Linked DNA regions of Homo sapiens: region 2 is linked to region 1. The links are contacts of gene promoters, found by promoter capture Hi-C in human tissues and cell types (Jung and others, 2019). All regions are on one chromosome and are shown on one strand. The core of a region is centred on a gene start or on the middle of the fragment in contact, and the rest is flanking DNA. Distances in the headings are between cores, read along the strand shown. Region 1 holds the start of LCMT1 (leucine carboxyl methyltransferase 1). Region 2 overlaps PRKCB (protein kinase C beta).

Region 1 (5,946 bases), core at 2,374-4,873:
CTGAACATCAGTGAGTAGAACTCAAGCACCCACTGGTTAGGATGTTGTGTTGCTGCTGCCCCCAGGTGGGAGCCTCAGAGACCACGTGGCGGACACACAGGCCACACCTGATGGCACCTACCAAGTTCAAGTGTGGCAAAAAAGAGAGCTCTGCTAATAAACTGAGCAACTTCCATTCAACTCCTGGGATTCATTCTGATTGGAACAACCTGGTTAGCCCTTCCCCCAATCCCCACCACCCTCTGAAGCATGACAAGGTGATTTTGGGTGCCAATTGGCCAGACCTTGGCAAGTTTCCACCCCTAGAGTCAGGCAAGGAGCCTTGCTTTTTTTTCTTTTTCTTTTTCTTTTTTTCGAGACAGACTTTCGCTCTTGTTGCCTAGGTTGGAGTGCAGTGGCACGATCTCGGCTCACTGCAACCTCTGCCTCCTGGGTTTAAGCGATTCTTCTGCCTCAGCCTCCTGAGTAGCTGGGACTACAGGCGCGCACCACCATGCCCAGCCATTTTTTGTGTTTTTAGTAGAGATGGAGTTTCACCATGTTGGCCAGGCTGGTCTTGAACTCCTGACCTCATGATCCACCCGCCTCGGCCTCCCAAATCCCGCCTCGGTGACTGGGATTACAGGTGTGAGCCACCACGCCTGGCCAGGAGAGAAGCTTAGTTTTCCATAAGAAGCTGTAGCTTTTTTTTTTTTTTTTTGGAGACAGTTTCGCTCTTGTTGCCCAGGCTGGAGTACAATAGCGCAATCTCGGCTCACCACAACCCCTGCCTTCAGGGTTCAGGCAATTCTCCTGCCTCAGCCTCCGGAGTAGCTGGGATTACAGGCATGCGCCATCATGCCTGGCTAATTTTTATTTTTAGTAGAGATGGGGTTTCACCATGTTGGTCAGGCTGGTCTCGAACTTCTGACCTCAGGTGATCCACTTGCCCCGGCCTCCCAAAGTACTGGGATTACAGGCATGAGCCACCATGCCAGCTTTTTGTTTGTTTTTTGAGACGGAGTTTTGCTCTTGTCCCCTAAGCTGGAGTTCAATGGCACGATCTCAGCTCACTGCAACCTCCACCTCCCGGGTTCAAGTGATTCTCCTGCCTCAACCTCCCTAGTAGCTGAGATTATAGGCGCCTGCCACCATGCCTGGCTAATTTTTGTATTTTTAGTAGAGACGAGGTTTCACCATGTTGGCCAGGCTGATCTCAAACTCTTGACCTCAGGTGATCCACCCACCTCGGACTCCCAAAGTGCTGGGATTACAGGTGTGAGCCACCGCGCCCAGCCCACTCTAGCTATTTTTTATAGAAGAAAGAGATACTGGAGAGCCAAAGCAACAATTGTCCATTGTAGCCTTTTGGGGAGAGATTCCATGGTGAATGCCTAACTTTTGGCCCACAATATTAATGTCCAAGAGCTTTTACACTTCCACAACTCTTCTCCTGACTTTGTCAAAAGATGCAGTCTAGTTGGCAGTGAACTTTCTCTGGCTGGGATATGGCTCAAAGACTACCCCAGCATTGTCTCTTGCATTAAGGTATCATTTAGCCTGAGATGGCTAAGCTTGCAATCTCCAGACTCCACGCTGTCATAAACTTTCAGATCCTCAACCAGGAACTTACATGGAATGAGCTGGCCCTGGAGGTCAGCTGGAAGATGGCCAAATTCCTCTGAATCACCAGCTATTTTGAATCAAAGGCTCATCCAACAACAAAAGTGTATAAACCCATCTGCCTCCGCCTTCTTCCAGTCACCCCCAGTCTCACTGTCCAGACCTGTGGGATTAACACCGTATAGTACTTGCTGTTAACACTTACTATCCACTAACACCCGTGGAATGTGGACACTGCTAAGCTGGGAGATGATGCTTGTGCAATAGTTTGTATTACCCTTTTGGCAAAGGACCACTCCAAGAAAATGGTGTATTTCATCCCATCAGCATTCCCCCTGGCAAAGCTCTCCACCCTTAGTCATTCCCCTCTTGTCATTTCTACTGTGGCTATCAATGAGATCTTGTGCCTCCATTAGAATACTGAGCTAGCATTTGATATTTGACCTCACTCCAAGGTGTGTATTCTGGGTTTCTGTTGTTGATTTTCTTTTTAAAAAAATGAGTGCAATTCAAAGTTCTTAAAGTATATCTGTTTCCTGCTTCCAACAACTGACAGATAACAAAATGGAATATACAAAGACATTTTTAATTTATAATGTATATTAAACATTATTATACATATACAACTTACAAGGGTTGCTTCTGGCTGGATTCTCTGCCAATCGCCCGAACACTGAGGATTCTGCTAGTTGTTCTGCCCTGAGTTAATTATAGCTATAAAATTTCATCACCAGCAAGAAACCAGGCGACTTCCCCAGTACATCTTGAATTTATACATATATTTTGTACTAGATTTAGTACAAAATAAATCCAAAACATCTTGAATATGCCTCATAATGAAACAGACACACGTGAACCCACTCCCACGTGAGAAACTGAGGATGTGTCTATGTGCTCCTTCCCTGCCTCTCCCTCCCCCTCTTGTGTGCTACCCTCCCGGCTCCCTAAAGATCACCAATATCCTGATTCTTTTTTATTTTTTTTTCTCATGTCTTGCCTTCTCTGTACAGTATTTTACCATATATGTACGTTTCTCTAAACAACATTAGTTTTACTTGGTTTGAACTTTACAAAAGTGTTGTTAGACTTCCTTCTTTCACTGAACATCGTGTTTCTGAGATTCAGCCATTGATGCTGCTACCTGGTAGCTCTAGTTCATTTATGATCGCTGCTACATGGCTTCCTATTGTATTACTTTTCCACACACTACTTCCCTCACTACATTTCTTTTCTTTCTTTCTTTTATTTATTTGTTTATTTATTTTTTTGAGACGGAGTCTCGCTCTGTCGCTCAGGACGGAATGCAGTGGCGCCACATGGGCTTACTGCAACCTCCGCCTCCCGGGTTCAAGCGATTCTCCTGCCTCAGCCTCCTGAGTAGCCAGGACTAAGGCGGCCGCCACCACGCCCGGCTAATTTTTGTACTTTTAGTAACAACGGTGTTTCACCATGTTGGCCAGGCTGGTCTCGAACTCCTGACCTCAGGTGATCGGCCCGCCTCGGCTTCCCACAGTGGTGGGATTACAGGAGTGAGCCACTACGCCCGCCCCCCTCACTACATTTCGAAGGCAATTTTGGGGGCAAAGCCCTCAGCACAGTCGCTGGCAGAGTCAGCACACAACAAAATTTTGTAAAATTGAATGACACTGAGCCCGGACTGAATGTAACAACTTACACATGTTGCTTCTGGCTGGATTCTCTGCCCTTTGCCCGAACGCTGAGGATTCTGCTAGCTGTTCCGCCCTGAGTTAATTATAGCTATAAAATTTCGCGACCAGCAAGCAGAAACCGGGCGACTTCTCCAGACACCTAAGACTACGCTTCCCAGAAAGGATTGCGATACTCTCCTACTGTTTAGTTTCTTTTTCCTATCGTCAAATTTCCGGGTTATGTGGGCGGTGCCAAAATAATTATCCAATGAGCAACTTCGTAGGCTGAGCGGGCAGGAGAATTGCTCAATGAGCGACTCGGAAGAGGAGCCAATAAGCGGAGAGGTTGCTGGGGTAGCCGGCGTGGGCGGCGTCACTGAGCCGCGCCAGCTGAGCCAGGTAGGGCCCTACCCTCTTCTGTTGCTTTCTCCCTGTGGCTCGCGCCGTCCCCCGCCGCCCGTCGACCCCGCTTCCATGTCCCTGGCGGACACAGCTCCCAGGAACCTCCACGCCCATGGCCACTAGGCAGAGGGAATCCTCTATCACCTCCTGCTGTTCCACCTCGAGCTGCGACGCAGACGACGAGGGCGTGCGCGGCACCTGCGAAGATGCTTCCCTGTGCAAGAGGTGCCTGTCGGGCGCGGGGTTCGGGGCCGGCATCTGGGGCGCGGGCCTAGGTGGGAGGTGGGCCTGCATCTGAAGAATACGCTCAAGGCTGGCAGGGATGCAGCCCCCGCCTCGCACGACCCTCGCTTCCCACCTGTGAAGTGCACGGAGCAGGGCTTCATTTATTTAACGAATCGTTTCTGAGCTTTTGCTGTGAGCCAGGCAGGGGGCCAGCCTGGGTATCGTCGATGGGAGCAGGCCCCTGAGCCAGACAGACGAGGCCTTGGGCTTCTTGGAGCTAAACGCTGCTGGAAAGACAGACATGAAGCAAATAGTAGCTCCAGCCTCGATGGGTTACGAGGATGAGAGGTGTAGGTTCTCTCTCTTTTGTAGGTTGCATTCTTTAGGGGGTTGGTGTGATCCCTGTTGTGCACCTGAAACTCAGGATGACGAGGGGAAATAACCCACCCAGAGCCAAGTAATATCTCTTTGCAGAGCCAGTACCGCACTAAGTCTCCACTGTTAAGGGTGTGGTGGTGGGGATGGGGGCGTAGCCAGCAGAGGTACGTGTCAGAGAAAGAGAAAGCTTGAGGCTTGAATGTCCACCATTTATTCTTTCATTCAACAAAATTTTTTGAGACCTTACTTTGTGCCAGGCCTTTACTTTGCAGTGGTTAGTAGGAATTCGATGGTGGAAATACACCAAGAACAAGACAGACATGGTGTCAGACATACTGGAACTCACAGCTTTGTTGGAAAAGAGAGACAGGAAGCAAATAATTACCTATGAAATATATAATTATGATTTTTTTGTGTTGAGTGCTGACAAATACGGCAGTGCCATTAGAGTTTGTAATTTTGTCAGTGATGTTTAAGGTGAGAAGAGTTTGGGCGCGGTGGTTCACGCCTGTAATCCCAGCACTTTGGGAGGCCGAGGTGGGCAGATCACGAGGTCAGGAGTTCGAGACCATCCTGGCCAACATGGTGAAACCCCATCTCTACTAAAAATACAAATATTAGCTGGGTGTGGTGGCGGGCGCCTGTAATCCCAGCTACTCGGGAGGCTGAGGCCGGAGAATCATTTGAACCCGGGAGGCAGAGGTTGCAGTGAGCCAAGATCACGCTATTGCACTCCAACCTGGATGAGAGTGCGAGACTATGTCTCAAAAAAAAAAAAAAAAAAAAGTGAGAAGAAAAGGCTTGAAAAATAGGAAAGTTGTAGGAGAGTGTTCAGAGGAGTGTGAACTGTTAGAGGAACTCAAAAAATGCTTTAAAGGTGGGAGAAGGAGGCTGAGGCCACGTAGTGATTGTAGAGTGGGGAAAACCAGTGTGTTGGATTAAACCTTGCACTTTTTATAGGTTCTTGGGGACTAAACTTTCAGAGCATGGATTCTGGAGCTAGACTCTGTCAAACTGAGCGTTGCCACTTACTGGCAGTATAAAGTCGGGGAAATTACTAAACTTTTCTGTGGCTCAGTTTCCTGATCTGTAAAATGGGGAGTATAATAACGCATCATAGGTGGGTGTGGACAAAAATGATATTTAATATTAGTAGAGCACTTGGAGCAGTGTCTGGCATGTAGTCCATGTAAGTGGTGATTGATTAAATTAATAAATACACAAGTATTAAAGTCTTAGAGAGAGTCCCTTATGAAATTTGTGAATTTGAGTGGATTATACTCAGCTTTTTCTTCTGTGGCTTTCAGTTGCTATTGGCCACAGCTGTCTTGGCTCCTGGTAACTTCCACCTGCCGGGTTCAAGTGATTCTCCTGCCTCAACCTTCCAAGTAGCTGGGATCACAGGCACACACCACCATGCCCAGCTAATTTTTGCATTTTTAGTGGAGACAGGGCTTCACCACGTTGGCCAGGCTAGTTTCGAACTCCTGAACTCAAGTGATCCGCTCGCCTTGGTCTCCCAAAGTGCTGGGATTACAGGCATGAGCCACCCCACCCAGCCTAGTCTTTTCATTTTTAAAACAGTGATAATAAAGGTAACCTTTATGGGTGTCAGGATTAAATGAGATTATCGATGCAGAGGATCTGACACAAAGTGAAGCCCTCAGTAAATTATTATTGCTAGTTTTGA
Region 2 (6,020 bases), core at 2,796-5,295, 1.1 Mb before region 1:
CTTGCTGTGTGCAGAGTCCCCGGTGCAGATGGCCACCTGGCAGGCATTTGCTCCAGCAGCATCCTTTGCAGGAATGGGAGGCTCCTCTGTAATTCACAAACTCACCGTGTCCTTCTATACAGAGGATCTTTCTGCTCTTCTGAAATGCAGACTTGGGTGTGCTGAGAGCTTCTGTGACAGAGGGTGCTGTCAGGAAGCTGGGCATCCAGGGCTGCACCTGGAAACCAAGCTGGCAGCGGCTTTGCAAGTTGAATAATCTTATGTTGTGATCTTGCATTTACGGGACCCCCCACTTAGCAAAAAGGGGTGCTCAGACCACTTCCCTTAGTTGGCTTACGGCACTGCAGGGGGAGAGGGGTGGGGAGGGGAGGAGATGGGTGTGGTTTTGTGGGTGATGGAGGATTTATTTATAATGTGGGTGTGATCCGTTGCCATGTGACTATTCCCTGAAACTACTGTACACCCTGAGCAATGAATGCACAACCCGGCCTGCACAGGAAGAGGTGGGGCTCACTCTGTGAACAGCCTCCACCAGAACTCGAAGGCCCCCTGGGGAATACCAAGCCTAACCCCTTTGTTTTCAGAAGGAGGAACTGAGACCAGACCATGGCAGTGACTTGCCCAAGATCACAGATGTCATTTTTATTCTAAGCTAACATTTGTCATATGGATACTACATGCCAGTCACTGTGCCAAGCTAAGCATCATCATTGTGATTTCATTAATCTGTACACATCTAGAAAGCAGGCTCATTATATTCAGCAAACACTTGCATAGTGTATATATGATGTGCCAGGCACTGTGCTGAGTCTTTTACAAATATTAATCCATTAAATTCTCATAATCCTATGAGGATTTAGTGTGATTATTATTTCCTTTTATTTATTTATTTAAGACAGAGTCTTGCTCTTGTCACCCAGGCTGGAGTGCAATGGCATGATCTCGGCTCACTGCAACCTCCACCTCCTGGGTTCGAGCAATTCTCCTGCCTCAACTTCCTCCCAAGTAGCTGGGACTACAGGCACCCGCCACCATGCCCAGCTAGCTAATTTTTGTATTTTTAGAAGAGATGGGGTTTTACCATGTTGGCCAGGCTGGTCTCGAACTCCTGGCCTCAAGTGATCCGCCCGCCTTGGCCTCCCAAAATGCTGGGATTACAGGTGTGAACTGCCGCGCCTGGCCTTATTTCCATTTTAAAGATGAGGACCCTGAAGCTCAGAGAGGTTGGGTAACCTGTCCAAAGTCACACAGCTGGGAGGTCATTGAGTTGGGAGTCAATCTCAGACAGTCTGGCCTTGAAGTGTCTGCTCCAGCACTGTCATTTCTCTCCATGTGACAGCTCTTCTCTCCATTTTACAGGTGAGAAAATCAAGGCTTATATAACTCAAGTAGCTTGCTCGAGGCTGCACGACTGGAAATTACCAGAGCTGGTGTTGAATTTGCACATTCCAGCTATAGAATCTGACCCCTGATCTCATGCTAAACTCCCTCTCAGTGGGGCTAGGGTCTTTTGGCTGAGGGGTCCAAGCTGGGAACAGGTCACGGGGGTTGAGGCAGAGCCTGAAGCCAGCAGGTGGAGGTGGGGTGGTGTCAGCCAGGTCTACCTGGGTTGACTCTGAACCTCATGCAGTGGAGCAGTTACTCCCTTCCCATGGGGCAGAGCCCCAGCTAGGTGGCCATCGCCTGGTTACACCCTCTAATTCCTTAAGATTTCAGCTTAAACTTCATTTTCTCAGGGAAGCCCTCCTGACTCTATCCAGCCGACACTCTCCTTGTAAATTCTCTAAGCACTGAGTGTCTCCTTTGCAGCTGTTGGAAGTGTACATTGGTTTATGCTTCTTTATTGTTTTCCCCAACTAGACTGACATAGGGAAGGTACTCAACGAATATTTGGTGACTAAATGGTTAAATAAGTGAATGGCTTATAGCTGTAGTAGAAGGAATTGGCACAGGAAATCAAGACTGAAGTCCAAGAAGTGGAAATATATATAAGGTTTATTGGGAAAAGTCACAACTCAGTAGGCACAGGGATGCCCTGAGCAGTGATAATTAATAATTAATAGTTAATAATAATAGCTTGTACTTATTGAGTGCCTGCTCTGTGTCAGGCAGCTGTTTTAAAGGTTGTGGGTAATTCATTCCCTAGAACCTCACAAAACAAATATTGTTATCCCCTAGGGATAACTACCGCTAGGGTTATTATCCTAGCTCCCCCTAGGGTTGTTGTTCCTAGACAGTTAAGGTTAACTAGGGATAACATCAAGAGAGCTGGCCCAAGGTCACCATTTCTTCCCAGCTTTTAACCAACGTTTTGAGAATACAGTATTCCCCATCAAAATCGTGGCTCACCACGGCTGTGAGTTTCACCCAGCGGCCTGGGTGGTCATGGTGAAAGCTAGAAATACATCTCTGGAAGACATTTTCAGGTATGCTACAGAGGCTGGCATACCCGGGCTAAGAGCTGCTGGCCTGGCTAATGAACTAAGATCACTCGTTGAAACAACAGGTATAAATCTCCAAGCAGAAAAGACTCGCTTAACATGGATGGCAAATGTTGTCTACCAAGAAGACCCAAGAAAATAATCAAATACCCTTTGCCAAGAATGTCTGGTTATAAAATAAAGATATAAATGACAATAACTTTTCTGTATTTTAGCAACAACCAGTTAAAATAAATTTGAAAAAATCCCAGTTAAAATAGCAATAAAGAGGTAAAATACCTAGGAATAAATACTTAGGCCCCAACTAAGAGAGTTTATGGGGGAAAAAATCTTTTCTGGAAAAACACAAGAAGGCTCAAATTACATGTGAATTCCACCCCTAGCTCCCCCAATCTGTTTTTCTCCTGGCAGCCGTGGTTCTATATCACATCCCACCTCACCCCTTAGCTCAGCCACAGCACCCAGCTCTGCACAATTCCTTATTCTAAATTCTGATTGGCCCAGTTCTTCCTTCATAAATTTCATATCACTGACCCAACCTTGGTCTATTCAGCATTGGCTGGAAGTATGAGGTCAGATGCTTTACTGTCCACTGAGCTGGTGCTGTAGGTTGGAATTTTTCTAGAAGGGTCAATAAGTTAAGCAGCCAATGATTGGCATTTCCAGCACAATCTGGGAGAATACATGGATAAGAATAACCAAGAAAAATTTGAAAGTAAGCAGGAATGCTAGGGGAGGGGCCAGTGGGTATAAAGGTGTGTGCCTCTAGATACCAAGAGCTTATACTATGGTATGGTGCAACGGTGGGGAGAGAGAGACAGATCAGTGGAGCATAAGACAATATTAAAAAATGAGCCGAGAATACATAAGAAATTCGTGTATCATAAAAGAGGCATTTCAAATCAGCAGGGAAAAGATGCATTTCATACATTTGCTGTCTAAACATTAAGAGTAGAAATAAAGGTCTTTCTTGAGAGCTCATGCTAAAATGAATGCCAAGGGAAATGATGATTTCAATGTAAAAAAGTGAAACCATAAAAGACTACCAGAAAATATCAGGAAGGACTTTCTAAATACGACAGCAGAGACAGAAACCATACAGGAAAAGGGAAAAATTTGCACTTTATTAAACACGCAGGCACACACACACACACACACAGACACGCACATGCGTTATACGTTGAAAAAAGAACATCGACAAAATTAAAAGGCAAATGAGAAACTGGGAAAACATTTACTGCATATATCATAGGTGAAGGGTTAATATCCTTAAATAATACACAGGAAAATTTGTTACAAATAATTTGAAAGAAACAAACTTGAATTTTAAAACAGGCAAAATTAATGATAACAGTGAACATTTCTTCTTTTTTTGTTTGTTTGTTTTGGAAGCAGGATCTTGCTCTGTCACCCAGGCTAGAGTGCAGTGGTGTGATCCTGGTTCGCTGTAGCCTTGAACTCCCGGCCTCAAGTGATCCTCCCACTTCATCCCCACAAGTAGCTGGGACTATAGGCATGCGCCACCATAACTAATTTTTTTTTTTTTTTTTTTTTTTTTAGACAGAGTCTCGCTCTGTGGCCCAGGCTGGAGTGCAGCGGTGCAATCTCAGCTCACTGCAAGCTCCACCTCCTGGGTTCATGCCATACTCCTGCCTCAGCCTCCCGAGTAGCTGGGACTACAGGTGCCCGCCACCACGCCCAGCTAATTTTTTGTATTTTTTAGTAGAGACGGGGTTTCACCATGTTGGCCAGGATGGTCTCGATCTCCTGACCTCGTGATCCGCCCACCTCGGCCTCCCAAAGTGCTGGGATTACAGGTGTGAGCCACTGCGCCCGGCCCATAACTGGCTAATTTTTAAATGTTTTGTAGAGATAGAGACAAGATATTACTATGTTGTCCAGGCTGGTCTCAAACTCCTGGGCTCAAGCAGTCCTCCCACCATGGCCTCCCAAAGTGCTGGGAATACAGGCGTGAGCCACCGGACCTGGCAGAACATTTCTTAAATGTTCATCTTCACCAGCAACTTTATGCAGTTTCCATGCAGTATCTCACTGAACTCTTACTAACCTAGGAATTAAGCATTATTATTATTCCAGTTTCCACACAAGGAAACGAAAACTTAAAAGGGTTAAATAACTTTCCCTAGAGTCAGAAAGTTAATAACTGGAAGAGCCAAGAGTTAAGCTTAGATGTGGCTACTAATTCACCCCTATATTGACATGGACTGCAGTGCAGATCTTAACCCAGGAAATGGTATTTTAAATTCTGCCAAAGTTTATACAATAGAAGCTTATCCTTCAAATGGAATAATTACGTATTCGCCAAATGGGCGGGGTTAGAAGAGGGCAGGGTATATCAGGCGGTTGAAGCAAATCGTCACCCAACACACAAGTGTTTACATGGTGTTATTGGCTCTATTCATTCTCCTCTCCAGGAACAAAATGAAAGATCGTCACCAAATTATAGTGTCCCCTTTTCAAATGTGCCATGCGTGTGTAATTACAGCTTCTAACATTCTCCACTTTTCATGCTCAGACAATCTCCGTCCACTCAGTCTCAATTAAGGTTTCCCTACTTTTTTTGTCTTTTGCAAATTTTTGGCCTTTTGTTTGCAGTTGTGGGCATGGCAGTACTGATGTGTTACTCACGGTGGTAGTACAAGAGGTGAGATTTTTGTAATACCCAGATAAACCCTAAAATATTCTACTTTACATCAAAAGTATAGAAAAGTCTGTGCTGAGAAGTTTTACTCTCTGTCTACTTTATTCTCTCTTGCCTCCATAGATGAACACTTGTATTAGGTTTTTTTTTTCTTTTTTTTTTTTTGGTGTATCCTGCCAGAGGTGTAATTAAGAGTCGACTTTCCCCGGTTACTCAGGAGGCTCAGGCAGGAGGATCACTTGAGCCCAGAAGTTTGAGGCTCCAGTGAACTATGATCTCGCCACTGTGCTCCAGCCTGGGCAACATAGTGAGACCTTGTCTCTGAAAATAATTTTAAAAAGAAAGGATACACACTTAACTTATTGCACCTCGCTTTCTCACACACACAAAAGGTACCATGTAATATACACACCTCAGCACCTTGATTTTTTTGTTTGTTTCACTTAAAAAATACAACCTTGGTCGGGTGCAGTGGCTCACGCCTGTAATCCTAGCATTCTGGGAGGCCGAAGCAGGCGGACCACTTGAGCTTGAGCTCAGGCGACCAGCCTGACTAATATGGCGAAACCCTGTCTCTGCAAAAAATATAAAAAGTAGCTAGGCATGGTAGCGTGCACCAGTAGTCCCAGACACTTCGGGGGCTGAGGCAGGAGGATTGTTTGAACCTGGGAGGTTGAGGCTGCAGTGAGCCGAGATTGCACTGCTGCACTCCAGCCTGGGTGACAAAGTGAGGCCTTGCCTAAAAAAAAAAAAGAAAAAAAAATGAGATTTTTTTCCATATTAATGCAGAGAACTTCCTCATTGTACTTTATACCTGAGTAGTCTTCCATTATGTGGCTACACTATGATTTATTTAAACAACCCTTTCCCAGTGACACTTAGCGTGTTTAAATCTTATGCTACCCTAAACAGGGCTT

The links. The method cuts DNA at HindIII sites, captures the fragments that hold promoters and counts their contacts. A contact is called where the count stands out against the background at its distance.
Region 2: a contact is called between a fragment that was not itself captured here and the fragment with the promoter of LCMT1 in region 1, in 1 of the 25 tissues and cell types used here (H1 embryonic stem cells).

Annotation. Positions count from the first base shown.
Region 1 is chr16:25,108,119-25,114,064 of GRCh38, forward strand. It overlaps LCMT1 (leucine carboxyl methyltransferase 1), which reads left to right and starts at 3,624. Exons shown (of 11, transcript NM_016309.3): 1 at 3,624-3,878. The coding sequence starts at 3,766. It overlaps LCMT1-AS1 (LCMT1 antisense RNA 1), which reads right to left and starts at 3,437. Exons shown (of 3, transcript NR_120306.1): 1 at 3,278-3,437. RefSeq lists enhancers at 3,047-3,574, 3,352-3,681, 3,772-3,931. The HindIII fragment of the contact is 11,844 bases long and covers 1,106-5,946 here.
Region 2 is chr16:24,013,919-24,019,938 of GRCh38, forward strand. All of the region lies in intron 3 of PRKCB (protein kinase C beta), which reads left to right. Among named protein-coding and RNA genes, the nearest start is that of PRKCB, 180 kb to the left of the region's middle. RefSeq lists enhancers at 533-652, 763-832. The HindIII fragment of the contact is 4,710 bases long and covers 1,691-6,020 here.